Regions from separate parts of the Homo sapiens genome. Here regions 1 and 3 are each linked to region 2. Evidence: promoter capture Hi-C in 16 types of primary human blood cells and fetal thymus (Javierre and others, 2016). All regions are on one chromosome and are shown on one strand. Each heading gives the region's core, a stretch centred on a gene start or on the middle of the fragment in contact. The rest is flanking DNA. Distances are from core to core; before and after follow the strand shown. Region 1 overlaps CPOX (coproporphyrinogen oxidase). Region 2 holds the start of ST3GAL6-AS1 (ST3GAL6 antisense RNA 1). Region 3 overlaps CLDND1 (claudin domain containing 1).

Region 1 (4,615 bases), core at 42-2,541, 150 kb before region 2:
GGGGGATTACAATTCCAGGTGAGATTTGGGTGGGGACACAAACCCTAACCATATCAGTGAGGTTTTATGTTGTACAACTTATGACTTGATTTCAGGTAACAATACAAGGGAATTTAGTCAAGCCATTTACAAATGTCTAAGCGTCACTAACTTAAATGTGCTAATTTAGGTTTATTATGAAATTGGATTGTTATGTGTTTCTTTGGGAAGAAAGATGAAATTTTAAAATGTGAGATTTCAAATACATAATTCATACTTGTGGCAGGGATAATACAATACATCCTTGAAAACAATTTCTAAATGGGCTTTTAGAGATACTGGGAACTTCTGTTTTCACAGACTAGGAATAAGACAGTTATACAGACAACTAAACAACACTAAGCTTGATACTACGATATATTGCAAAACAGTGTTGGAAAACAAAGGTTAACACATCATTCATTAGGTAGCAGGTACTATAAATAAGGAAAGATCCACCTTCAATATTTTGTAATAAGTGGGATGTGGATTGAATGACTGTAAATGGAATATGTTGACAGCAATACTAAAAGTAAAATGTGTTGAAAGGGTAGAAGAGATTGACTCCAAGGAAGGTTTCTTGAAGAAGATTTAAAATGGGCATGGAAGGATGAGCGGGCACATAAGACATTCCAAGCAGAGATAGCAGCAGCCTGAGAAAAGGCCAGAGGGGATATAATTTGGGGGAAGTTCAGGAAAAGTGGTGAGTGGTGAGTATATGGTCTGAGACTGAAGTGCACAGAGAAATGTAGAAGATAAGCCTGAAACACGAGGTAGGAGTTAAATGGTGGATTGCTTGAATGTCAGACTGACTTTAGAATTCTGTCTGGAGAGGAGATTCTTTGACTATTTCAGCAGGGTGGTGATAATGGGACCTAGGAAAATAATTCTGAAGAGAGGGAAAGGTCAGAGTGCCCAGAGGCAGGGAGAGCATTGCAAAAGTTCAGATGAGAAAGTATGTGAGACTAAAGTAGGGTGGTGGCAAAGGGCAGAGGAAGGAAACCAGGAGCCATTTCAAAGGGGGACTCAACAGGAACTAATTAGGGCAATGTGGAGGGTTGAGTCCAATCTATTTCGTGGTTTTGAGTGTGGAAGGCTGTGTGGAGGTTTTGAAGATGACTGGGATCTAATTCCCTACCACTCGAATCTGGAACTGTCCTTAATGACAGACTTGTCAGGAGTCCAGTGGAATGTGAAGAAAGTGACACTACATAACCTCAGTGGTTAGAACAGAAAACCACCATACTGCCTTTGCCTTTTTCCATGGAATTCGTGCTCTGAGCCACCCATAGGCAATGCAGCCTGCAGTCCAAGATGAGCTGAGCCTTTGAGTCATCCTCACCTATGTACAGACATGCAAGTCAAAAACCTGCAGAAGATTCCTGTCTCTAAATATTGTAACAGCAAAAGACACATGGAAGGATAAGTCATAAAGAAACATTTGGCTTTTCAAATCTTGTACTCCTTAGCGTGCAGAAGCACTTATCTCAAATACTCTGCTGACTAGGAGGGTCAGCAGAGTACAGTGATGAACAGAAAATAGTGGTTAAAAATTTGCTCCAGAGAATTGACATTTCTCCCCTCCAGACACCCTTTATTACCATGAACCTGCATGCATAAGACAGTTAGGTGTTCAGGCCATCTGGAGGTGCACTGTGGTCTTCAGGTAGACTGAATTAACACCAGTAAGAAATTGAAAGAGAAATTCACTTTGAATAACAGTAGGATAATCTGTTTTCCAGTAGTTATGCAATTCTTTTCAGACATAGTCTAATCCATAGTAGAAATACGTGGTTATTGAAGAACTGAAAACAAATGCACAGAAAAATTTTATCTTCATTTACCCGCCACAGCTTTAAACACAACTAAATAGGCTAGCATTTTAGCATTATATCATCACTATGTAGTGATTTTCTATTTTTTAAAAGCTAAACTGAGGTTGATCTGAACATTTGTTCCTATATGCCTATATTTTTCCTAGTATTAGATTTATTGAAGTATTATTCACATATACAATAAAATTCCATTTTAAGTTCAGTGAATTTTGATAAATGTATATACAGTCTAGTAACCATCACAATCAAGATGTAAAACATTTAAATCACCTCAAAATACTCTTTTGTCCCCTTTCACAAATCTGCATCCCCTAACCCCTGCCATCCATTGATCTGCTTTCTGTCATTAAAGCTTTGCTTTTTCTAGGTTTTCCTATAATGTAGTCATATAGTAAGTACTTTTATGTGTGGCTTTCACTTGGCATAATGTTTCTGATGTTCACCCATGTTACTGTCATTAGCAATAGTTATTCCTTTTCATTGCTTAGTATTTTAATATACGCATATATCACAAGTTGTTTATCTGCTCACCTGCTGTTAGCCATTTGGGTTGTTTCTAATTTTCAACTATTGAATAAAGCTGCTATGAAAATTGAGTACAAAACTTGTATTTTTCTTGAGTAAAATACCTAGGAATGAGGAACTATGGCATTAGCATAGCTGAGCCTTGAACAACACAGGTTTGAAGAGTTTTGCTTCTTCGCAGATTTTCTTCCACCTCTGCCACCCTTGAGAGAGCAAGACCTACTCTTCCTCTTACTACTCCCACTAAGCCTACCCAACATGAAAACAATGAGGATGAAGACCTTTACGATGATTCACTTCCACCTAATGAATAGCAAATATATCTTCTTTCTTACGATTTCCTTAATAACATTTTCATTTCTTTAGCTTGTAAGAAGAGTATATAATACATATAACATAAAACATGTGCGAATTGACTATGTTATTGGTCAGGCTACCAGTCAACAGGAGGCTATTAGTGATTAAGTTTTGGGAGAGTCAAAAGTTATACAAGGATTTGAAACTGCATGCAGTAAGGAGGAGTTGGGGCCCCTAGCCCTAATGTTGTTCAAGGATCAACTGTACTAAGAAATATATGCGTTTTCCTATATTATCCTGGCAACAAAAAATATAAATATTTCTTAGTCTTATTTAATAATAAAATTTATTAGCAGATCTCTTGTAAGACAGTTGAAGAATTCATACATTTTCCAGCCCCAAAAAGGCCACACAGAATCACAAACATTCAACGTGTTCCACGATAATGATATGTATGAGATGCTCTTCCTTATAAACTTTATTACGAAGCAAATAAAATAATACATTCATAATATATGAACAAAGAAATCATACATTAAGAATCCTGTTGTGATTTGCTCTTAAGAGCAAAGAGCTGCAGAATCTCTAATATAAAAAAGAGGACATTTTCAATGTGTCCATTTTCCTAAGAAACGTGTGTATGAAATGCCTCCAAGTTTCTCATACTATATATACTTGCTTTAAAGAAGGAAATTATTTCTCATTTCATTTTCCAAATGAGAAACATTGCCTAAATTCATGACATCCCTAGGATTATTCTTAGTCTCAACTTCCACACAGAGATGTCTGAAATAGAAAACTCTTAAGTATCAGAATTCAGGGATATAAGCTTTCACATTCAAAAGTGCAGAGAATCCCAACATTAACAAACAATGGTTCCACAAAAATCAAAATTACAACTTAGACATCTCTAAAATAATAGTAATGTCACTTTAGAGTTTACAAACTACAGAAATAACTGAATTGTAACACATGCAGAGATTATTTCAAGTGCTTCTAAATACCTATTAGAAAAATGTGTATCTATTTGACAATATTATGTTCTCTGGAGAAAGATATATAAGGATTACAGCAGAGACTTCAGTATTGACAAAGTAAAATTTTTACCTTCAAGTTGCATTCTAAAATTACTATGAAGTCTCAACTTCACTGAATTAATGAAAATAAAATATATTCCACGACAGATTTTTGTGGCACAAATGAAAACTTTAAAAAATACATGAAACAAAAACAAGATGAGAGATTTCCTGATACATATAATACTATTTATATTCCCTTATCTCAATACTTGGAAACTCAATGTCCTATTTTGTAAACTAGTCATATAAAATGACACTAGAAGTATAAATGAGGTTTAATCAATTGACTCTGACAATCTGCCATCTCACCATTCATCACTGACAGCATCCAAAACATGTTATCATCTGCCCACGAGGTAGGGTGCAGAGTGGAGAAGACTAAGGCACGGGTAACTGCCACACAGTGGCAAAGTGCCGACCAGTGGCATGGGGAGCACACATCGTGTGCCCTCCAAACCCCTGCACAGCCATTCTGCCTGCATCAACGCACCCAGTCCCTTGGATGGCGTAGAACTTCCAGAATTTCAGCTTCTTTGGAATTCTCTGAGGGTGAATGCATGTACTCCCATCTATGCATGTCCAAAACAAAAGCAAAAAACGTCATAAAAAATGACACACATACCTCTTTACTTAAAATAAATGAAAAATAAAATCCTAAGAATAAAAAAAAAAAAAGCCTTATACTTCTTTGTCTCTACTGTGCCTGATGTGCCTTGTACCAACTTGACCTTTAAAAAAACTATTTGCCAAACAAATAGTTTCTTAACAACTCTTGGGTATGCTTTGGCTAGTATTAATATCCCAGAGCCAAAATACACCTTTAATATAAACCAGGGTTTCATATAGTGTAGAAACTCAGGT
Region 2 (4,859 bases), core at 1-2,500:
ACCTCGTGATCCGCCCGCCTCGGCCTTCGAAAGTGCTGGGATTACAGGTGTGAGCCACGGCGCCCGGCCATTTTTTTTTTAAAGTAAGGTTGGGAAAACAACAAATGATACCTCCTAGGGCTGTTATTACAATTAAGACAAATACCAGAGCACTTTGGCAGGTGGAGGCGAGCGGATCATTTGAGGTCAGGAGTTCGAAACCAGCCTGGCCAACATAATGAAACCTCATCTCTACTAAAAATACAAAAATTAGCTGGGAGTGGTAATCCCAGCCTGTAATCCCAGCTACTCGGGAGGCTGAGGCAGGAGAGTCGCTTGAGCCTGGGAGGCAGAGGTTGCAGTGAGCCAAGATCATGCCCCTGTACCCCAGCCTGGGTGACAAAGCAAGATTCTGTCTCAAAAAAAAAAAAAAAAAAAAGGACAAATACCAGAAAGCCCATCACAGATGAAGGACTTTGTTCCAGTTCGTGACACATTGCCAACTTTGAATTACATCCAAGTCCGTGGGTCTTCTCTCTGGGGTCAATTGATGGCACGTGATTACACTGCTCAGGGCCCAAAGGTTGGAGCTATGACTTGAATGTTTCTAGACAAGGAATTATTTGACAAACACACTTTAAAAAGTATTCAGAGCCATCCAAGTAAGAGGACATTAATAACGTAGGGTTTTGCCTATGGAGAGAAAAGAAAACGCAAACAGCACGTTCCACCTTCGTTCTCCCTAAAGTAATTTATCTCCTTCAAAAGATAAAAAGTACGAACACATTTGCCCTTGAAGGGCAGAGCCCCGGAATTCAGGAGCTCTCTGAACACTCCTCCCCTTCTGATAGGGACCAAACCTTCTGCTGAGCCTTGTGTCACAGTCAGTCCGCGGCGCCACAAGCCTCAGTGTTTACTTCTGCCGCCTGCCAGCCGGGCGGGGAAGGGGAGTACCCGGCCACCCCTCACTTTAGCTCCTGCAGCTTTCCAAACAAACCAGGGCGGGATGGGAGTGTCTTCTTGGCTGTGGAAATCGATCCTCCTACCTTGTCCTGAAGCCACCCGCCGCCTTTCCTCGTCCCTCCCTTCGCGGTGATTTTCCGGTCCCGGCGCCCGGCGAGGGCGCGCGGCTGGTGTCCGCCCCGCCCGAAAGGTAGGGGTTCGGCTGTGCTCCCGCCTGGTCCCCAACGCCTCACCCTCCGGGAGACCCGCAGCCTCCCACCACTTTGCACCTTCCTCCTCGAATTTGGGGGCGGCCACCGTGCAACTGGCGCCAGCCGCGGAGCAGGAGGAGCTTCCCGCGACTCCGGAGGCGCTCGGCGCAGTCGCCCGGGATTGGGGCTGGCGGGAGCCTGAGACTCCGGGCAGGGCTGCTCCCTCCTCTGCTCCCCCGCCAGATCCGCGGGGAAGGAATCGTGCCCGCGCCGCCCCTGGCCCGCGCCACCTTCCTTTGGTTTCTGCCGGCCTCGGGCTTCTGCGGCCCGATGTGGCAGGCGCCGCGAGAGAGGCAGCAGCCGGCTGGAGCAGCGGCCCCTCAGGTCTCGGAGCCCGGTGCGCCTCTGCGGTCGTCGCTCCTGGGCCTCGGCGGGTCACTCTTGCCGGCCGGCTTCGCTGCGGGTTTGCACTGCCCGGGTGAGGGAAATTGGGGGTGCGGGAAGACCGGTCTGGGCCGGGGTCCGGGCGGCCTGGGGTCTGTGCTGCCCCGACCCTCCGGCTTTGCAGCCTCTGAGGCTCAGGGTTGGGGGTGGGGACACGGAGCGCTGTTTGCCCCTCCACATATCCTGCCAGCACCAAGGAGGTGGCGTGCGGAGGCGTAAAGGGACCATGGGCGCTGGGACCCGCGAGCCAGCCGGCGTGCGCCGCAGCCACCGCCGAGAGGGCACCCGGGGATCCTGGAGCCCCAGTGAAGGGCGGGAGGGACGCGCAGCCTCGCGGGTAAGCCCAGGAGCCGTGGGGGCCGAGAGAATCTGCTCTGGGACCCTCTTTTGTCGAATCGCCGGCGAGGTTGTGCAATTGGGAAGCCAAGAGGAGTGTCCAGCTCCTCGTTCACTATTGTTTTCTTGTAAAAGGGTCTGTACGCGAGGAGGGTTGAGGGGTCTGGAAGGTTCTGGTCTCTTACCGTATAAAGTTTTTCGAGAAACCCTTTTTCCCTCCACAATGGAACTAGACCTAACAAAACAAGCTCCGAGGCAGTTTAGGAGAAAGGAGGACGGTGAGTAAATTGCAGTGTTTGGGCTGCTGTTAATTTTCAAGATAAGGGAGAAGCAACTTGTCATTTTGAGGCCGCCGGCTCCGGAGATCCCGGCAATCTCAAGCCTCTTTCTTGTGTGCTGTTATTTTGGCTTAAAAGAAAACCTATAAAAAGCGACGCCCAGAAACCAAAAACAAACCCAAAGCACCTTCTTTTAGGATTTTTCAGTAGCGAGGGTTGGCGGGGACAGTGGGGAGGAGCAGGAGGGGGAGAAGAGGTTGCTGTTGAAAGGTAATGTTTAAAAACAGTGTGTGGGGGTAGGGATGAAAATAACGTGGTGACTGCTAGTGTATCAGAAATCACACCGAGTCTAAAGTCGTAAGTCCCATTTGCCTTACGAGGACCAGCTGGGTGCTGTGAGTAGGTGGATAGTTAAGGAAACTGTAGATCTGCTGAAAGCTCCTCGTGGTCTGTGGTCTCGTGTCCACGCTGACCTTTGAACCTCGTAACTCTTCGGGTCTCCAGCGGCCACCTCTTTTAGGCTAGCCCGAATGTTTGACTTTCCGGTCCTCAATCTTCCTCACCTAGCTGCAGACCATAAAACTGTCTTTTTATTTACAGGGAGATGTTAAATATTTGGGAACATCTGCTCAGGCTGCCAGGTTATTTTCCGTTTGAAAGCATGCCGATTTGACATTTGCAAGTTGGTTTATGTTGCTTCCTTTTTGTTTCACTAAGAACGCTTTTCATACCAAGATCTGCGAAAAACGATGCCCTTAGACTGTTATTTAGTTTATTGTCTCTGAGTAAGGCCAAATTCCACAGAGGGTCTTTGGATAATGGCAACTTTGCTTATAAGAAGATAATTTTTCTAGAAAGTGTTGCATTGGTCTGGTTTCCTAAGCTGTTCTTGTGGTCATGTAGACTGGGAGGGGAGATCTTCATTCCTTGTGATGTCGCTTTCCTTGAATTGTATTTTTACTATAGTTCCACAATGTCTCAGTCCCAGATTGCACCATATGTTGTTTACATGGTGCAGTAAAATGGGACTGCAATTTTGACTACATTTCAGTAGATTTGTTGGAGATAGTTTGTTCTTATGCCCTATATCAATAATAATAATAAAAAACCTTTGAGGCTCAAGAATAGACAGTATTGACAGAATAATACCATTAAGAGACATACCATTTAAAAACATTAGTCTGTCTCCTGTGAAATTGTAAATCGTAGGTGTTCTCATTCAGTGGCAGACGACTGGATTTCACAGCAGTTTTCTTCTGTTGGAGACATTTCTGTGTTCCACATCATGTGGAACCTTATGGGAGAAGACGTGAGTAATGCCATGTTTCCCGCATTTCCCTGATAAGCATCATCTGCTAACCATGCAGACTGCCAGATGGCTTCCATGGAAATTGTGCTTCCATCCAGGAGTGGTGACCAGAGATCTGTTTAGTATGCATTTTAGGTGATGCTTATTGAGAAGGTGAAGGAAGCATGGAACTCCTATTTGGCACCCACTCTGATTTTTGGTGTGTTCTCATATGCTATTTTATTTAATCTTCCTGACAAAACTCCTGCAAGAAAGGAATTTTTAGCCCCATTTTATAGCTTAAAAAACCAAGATTGCCTTAGGTTGAGTTGCAGTGGCTCACATAAAGGTTTGACTCTACCTCTGCCTACACCATCCCAGGAATCCTCTGCAGTATACATTCTGCACAAATTCTTCCATTTCCTGTGCATATCTTTCTCCTTTGCCTGGCATATCCTCCATTTATATATACCTTGGTCTGAATATGCCTTTCTAGTTATCCCCAGGCTGGGCTTTTTGAATAGGTGGTCTGCGTACTTTGCCTTCCTTGTGACAGCTTTAGACTTTCACCAGCCAGGAACCTTCTATCTTCTGCACATCTCTGATGTGTCACTTAGGTGATCAGGGTCTGGCGAAATCTAGGAGTTTATGCTGTCTTCAATGGGCATATTCCAAAAGTTCTTTCCTTTCTGAATACATTTTCACTGAAGCTCCTACTCAAGCTATATGTTACCTGGAAGAGGTTTTCCCAGGGTTACATCCCCACCCTCACAGTTGAAATGAAACATTCTCTCCTGTCTGTCCCAACTGTGATGGATAATAGCACACATCACACATCACAGTTTCCAATTTAACCCTTAGGGGTTAAAATGGATTTTGATTTGGAGTGAGCTTGATGCATGGAATAGAATGTATACATTGGATATTATAGTGTTTTGGTAGGAAATTTTATTTACAATTCCATATCAGGATGTCAGAAACACAATTCCCTCACCATTGTGGGATAGCTGGAGTTCTTTCCCCTGATGGTGACACCTCAGCACTGAATCAGCTGCAGTGTCTCAGACTTGGTCAGGAACTTGACTGTCGTATAATCAGGCTAAGAAGTGCTGAGATTCTGGCAGTGAGGTTATGAAAGTAAAAGATAACAGGATCAGTAAGACCTGGTTTTCTTCCTTGTGCCCATGTTTGTTTTTCTTGGAGAGCTTTTGGTCATCTAGGAGGATTGTCCAGTTTACCTTTTTACTGCCACAAACTTTTGTATCTGACCAGGGGCCTTCCTCTTCCTGCACCATTGAGATAGAGGGAAAGGAAAGCACCTAGCCCTTAGGAGATTTTCTTAAAAACATTGGAAAGCTGAGTGAAAAGTTATCTTCTCCC
Region 3 (4,243 bases), core at 1,667-4,166, 210 kb before region 2:
CTAGACCTAGATTAGTTTATTTGAAAGATGGCATCGCTTAAAGTAAACCACATAAATTTTAGTGGTATTAAGTGTGTATTTAGTGGTGAATGTGTATAAATAAAATAGATTTTCATAATAAAATGGTATATCCACAAATAAAAATTAAAAACAATTGAGAGGTGGGGAAAATATCAGTATTATTTTAAAAAAATAAAAATGGCAATTGTAAAGCAGGCAGTTTCTTGCTCATGCCACACGATATGCCTTCATTAAGGTGTACTCTTTCCGGTTGGTGTGAGCAGCCCAGATGAAGAGAGCAGAAGCCATGAACTGTAAGGGAGCAGAGACACAAGCCAGGCAGAAGGACCATCCAAATTCACCGGATACATTGTCAGGGAGCTCTAGTTTCTGGTGGAGTAGTTCAATTCCAGCAACATAACAACTTACTGAGCCCAGTGTACACAGACCTTGGGGGAAAATTTAGAAAACAAAACAAAACATGGCTGGATAAAAGCACAGTAAAGAGCTTTTCAGGCAATGTGACAGGGCAGTTAATACGTGAACATTTCAGATTTATAACTCTTTGGTCCCTAAAGAGACAGGAAGAAGCTAAAAGGTAAGTATGATGACAAAACCTACCTGCAAGGAGATGGAGAATGCCCGTGGCAATGGTGGGATATAAGCTTCGGCAAATGCAAGCACAAAGTCCGATCAAAGCCCCAAAGCACATCAAACCTAAACTCACAAAAGGTAAAAGGAACTGGCAACGCCAAAGATCTGATTTTTAAAAAGAGAGAAAAGAAATGTTACCGTGATTTCAGACCATTTTCCCCGCAATGGCAATTTCTTTCATATTCTAATTAGATCTTTTCTCAAAAAGTGTGAAAGTATTTTAACATTGAGGCCTCTTTTCTAAAGCACATTATTCAAAAGGATGCTACTCTTGTCCTGATAAAAGTAAAAGGACACTAACAGGTAGTAGCAATTACTGAGGGTTCACTATGTTCCATGCTATGTTTGTCTACACATTTTCTGTATTAATCCTCCCAACAACCCTAGAAAGTAGGTACAGTCAGCCCTCCATATCTGCAGGTTTCACATCCGCAGATTCAACTAACCAAGGGTTAAAAATATTCAGAAAAAAAAATGATACAAATTTACAAATATATAGTATAACAACTATTTACATAGCATTTATATTGTATTGGGTATTATAAGCAATCTAAAGATGATTTAAAGTATACAGGAGGATTGTGTAGGTTATATGCTAATATTATGCCATTTTATATAAGGTACTTTAGCAACCTTGGAATTAGCAGGGGGTCCTGAATCCAATCCCCCATAGCTACAGCTGTATTATTATTAATTCCATTTTGTAATTAAGGAAACTGAGGCAAGAGTCATAAATAACTTGTAAAAATAACACAGTAAGTGGTAGAGCCAGGATTTGATACAAAAATCAGTCTGACTCTACCTACCAACAATATCTAGGTCTTTATATGATCTAAAGGCAGTAACAACAAGTAAATTAATGGTAATTATAAATGACCTGTCTTATAGGGCTGTTGAAGAATATATATAAAGCACAAAGCAGAGAATCTAAAGGTAGTTTTAATTATCATAAATCTCTCATCAACATGGGAAGAAAACCTGATGACCTCACAAAACATGCCATTCCATTTTCCAATAATATTCATTATTAGAAATGCATTCATATCAATCTTGACTAAACTTTACACCTTTTGGTGCTGGTTTTGCTTTCTGGAACTTCTTATGTGTTTTTCTAACTTACTTTCTTTCAAACTCTCCTAGTAATAAACTGCTTGCTACACATTCTCTTTATAAAACTGAATACCTACCTCTTATTCAACCTTTTCTCTTACAACATGGTCATTCTTCTGGGCAAGTCCCTATAGCCCTGAAAACTGAGGCTCAAATCTGAAGACAGTATTTCATGGGCTGCCTGACCATCAGGGAATAGGTTGTTCCTAATAAATACTTTCATCTTTTTTGACATCTACCCTTTTGTTACTATCACCTAAGACTGGATAAACACTTTTGACAGGCCTGACAACTCACTGACTCATTTAGAGCTTGCAGTAAACTTTTTTCACATATACTTACCTGAACTCAAGCAGTGGAAAGTGTTTAATTCAAATATAGGAATGTATAAGTTATCTCAACTAAATTTCCTTTTACTAAATGGGCCCATTAATAACATCTTTTGAAGGTCTAGATCCCATCATCCAATGAAGTAGTTGGCCCTGTCAACTTCAAATCATTTGAAATTTGGTAAGCATGTATCTACCTTCTAAAATATCAACAGAATAGAGTTCACTGGATACTGTTAGAGATTTTATTTCACGTTGGCACAATCTACTAACTCATCTTATTCCAAAAACATAGTCCAAAAAGAGACAAATAAAATTATCTTTGTTCCCCCAACTGTCCTGGTGAAATCAAAGTACTCACAGGTCCTAAGGAGATCAATCCCGCTATTGTGGTTTCCGGGATCAACAAATTTCTCCATGAACTGCTCAGTTAGTGTGAAACTCACACATTTTGTGACCACATCAAATGACTCTGGAACAAGAACAATTGCCTGTTGTTTTAATTATAAACATTTAACAAAAATCTCTTTCAGTAATTATTCTCTGAAGTAAAACAGTAAAGGATGTTTCCAGAGGGGTCAGCAACTTCTCTGGCCCTGACTGACACACAGGTTTCATAGATGTCCAATGGATGCCACTGGTTCTCAGTGGCAGGCTGAAGACATAGGCACAAGGAAGAAAAATAAAGTGGAAGCAGTAAAATGAATGGCAGAATAGCTATGTAGAAAGCCTAGGAAGAAGGGGAGGGAACAAAGACTGAAATAAATAGGAATGTTGATCTTCTCATGCAACCGTGCTTTATCAACCATATTCCCATCTCAGGGAATGCCAAATCCACACTTCCAGTTCCTCAGACCAGAAACTTTAGAGTAATTCTTGTACATTTACACTCCATCAGGAAATCCCAGGAATTCTTCCTTCAAACTATGTCCAGAATCCAGCTGCTGCTCAGTGCTACCATTCTGGTGTGAGTCATAATCATCACTTAACCTGAATTACTTCTATAACCTCCTAACCATAGTCTTCTAGTTTCCACCTTTGTCTGCTGCCTCTGTTCTCACAACAGCCAGGGTGACCAGATCAGGGCTCAGCACTGTATCTGGAGTCAACACCAAAGTTCTCATTCTGCCTAGAGTCCTCCAGGATTTGCCCCAGTCCCACTCCCAAAGTAGGTCTTTAACAGCATACCCAACTTCCCGTCTCTCCCTCCATTCCAGCCCAGTGGCTTCCTTACTGGTCCTTGAATATTTCAGGCATGCTCCCGCCATAGAGCCTTTGCAGTAGATGTCCTTTCCAACCTAAATGACTTCCTCCCCATTTACCCATATGGCCAACTCTTTTGTCTAGTCTTTAACTACATTCTTTACTCAAGTGGTGTCTTCTCAATGAGACCTACTTTAAGTATCCTATTGAAAATCATAACCTATGGCCACCAATATTCCTTTTCCCACATATTTCCAAATCCCTTTTGTGTTCTATTTTGCCATAGCACATGTCATCTTTTAACATACTGAATAATTATTTATTCTGTTTATACTGTTATATTCTGTTCACTGCCTGTCATCCTTTATTAGAATGCTAGCTCCCCAGGAGTAAGGATTTTGTTCTTTCCTGATGTTCTCCCAGCTAAGAGGCCCTGGAACATGGAGACATGCAATAAATTATTTGTTTAATGAATGACTAAATGGTAACACTCCAATTCCAACTCCAATTTCAATATCAAGTGCTCCTGTAACCTCATAAGTCAAACTGAACATTTTACAATGAATTTTAACCAACTTTCTCTCCTTTCCTTCCAAATTATCTTTTTTTCCAGATACAGTGACATATTATCATCCTTTTGATATATCATAACTCAAGCCTGTTCTGCTATGATTTGAATACAATGCTTCCCCACTAAGGGGCCAACAGAAGTAGTCATAAATAAACTGTAAAGTTGTTCCTTACAAAGAGTTCTAAAGCTACCATTTTAATAACTGGAAATCAAAATCTTTAAGTGTTAAATAAGAATGCCTGTAAAATAAACCTAAAAATCTAGTTTTTGGTTTTTTTTTTTTAACTTCTGTAATACAAATTTCTTAACCTACCAACTCTGCATCAAGATTGTTGTAAAACAGTCTCATAATTACACAGATTAAATGTAGAGCTGG

Evidence for each region. The method cuts DNA at HindIII sites, captures the fragments that hold promoters and counts their contacts. A CHiCAGO score of 5 or more calls a contact.
Region 1: a fragment that was not itself captured here is called in contact with the fragment with the promoter of ST3GAL6-AS1 in region 2 in 1 of 17 cell types (neutrophils); the score reaches 5.9 in neutrophils.
Region 3: a contact is called between a fragment that was not itself captured here and the fragment with the promoter of ST3GAL6-AS1 in region 2, in 1 of 17 cell types (neutrophils). The highest score is 8.2, in neutrophils.

The regions. Positions count from the first base shown.
Region 1 is chr3:98,576,448-98,581,062 of GRCh38, forward strand. CPOX (coproporphyrinogen oxidase) reads right to left here. Exons shown (of 7, transcript NM_000097.7): 7 at 2,999-4,323. The coding sequence ends at 4,236. Among named protein-coding and RNA genes, the nearest start is that of CPOX, 15 kb to the right of the region's middle. The HindIII fragment of the contact is 1,823 bases long and covers 381-2,203 here.
Region 2 is chr3:98,731,401-98,736,259 of GRCh38, forward strand. It overlaps ST3GAL6-AS1 (ST3GAL6 antisense RNA 1), which reads right to left and starts at 1,251. Exons shown (of 5, transcript NR_046683.1): 1 at 1,026-1,251. It also overlaps a transcript of ST3GAL6 not described here. RefSeq lists enhancers at 717-1,465, 1,466-2,213. The HindIII fragment of the contact is 17,493 bases long and covers 1-4,859 here.
Region 3 is chr3:98,516,431-98,520,673 of GRCh38, forward strand. It overlaps CLDND1 (claudin domain containing 1), which reads right to left. Exons shown (of 5, transcript NM_001040181.2): 3 at 2,455-2,565; 4 at 622-759; 5 at 1-449. The coding sequence ends at 229. Among named protein-coding and RNA genes, the nearest start is that of CLDND1-AS1, 4.0 kb to the right of the region's middle. The HindIII fragment of the contact is 4,507 bases long and covers 664-4,243 here.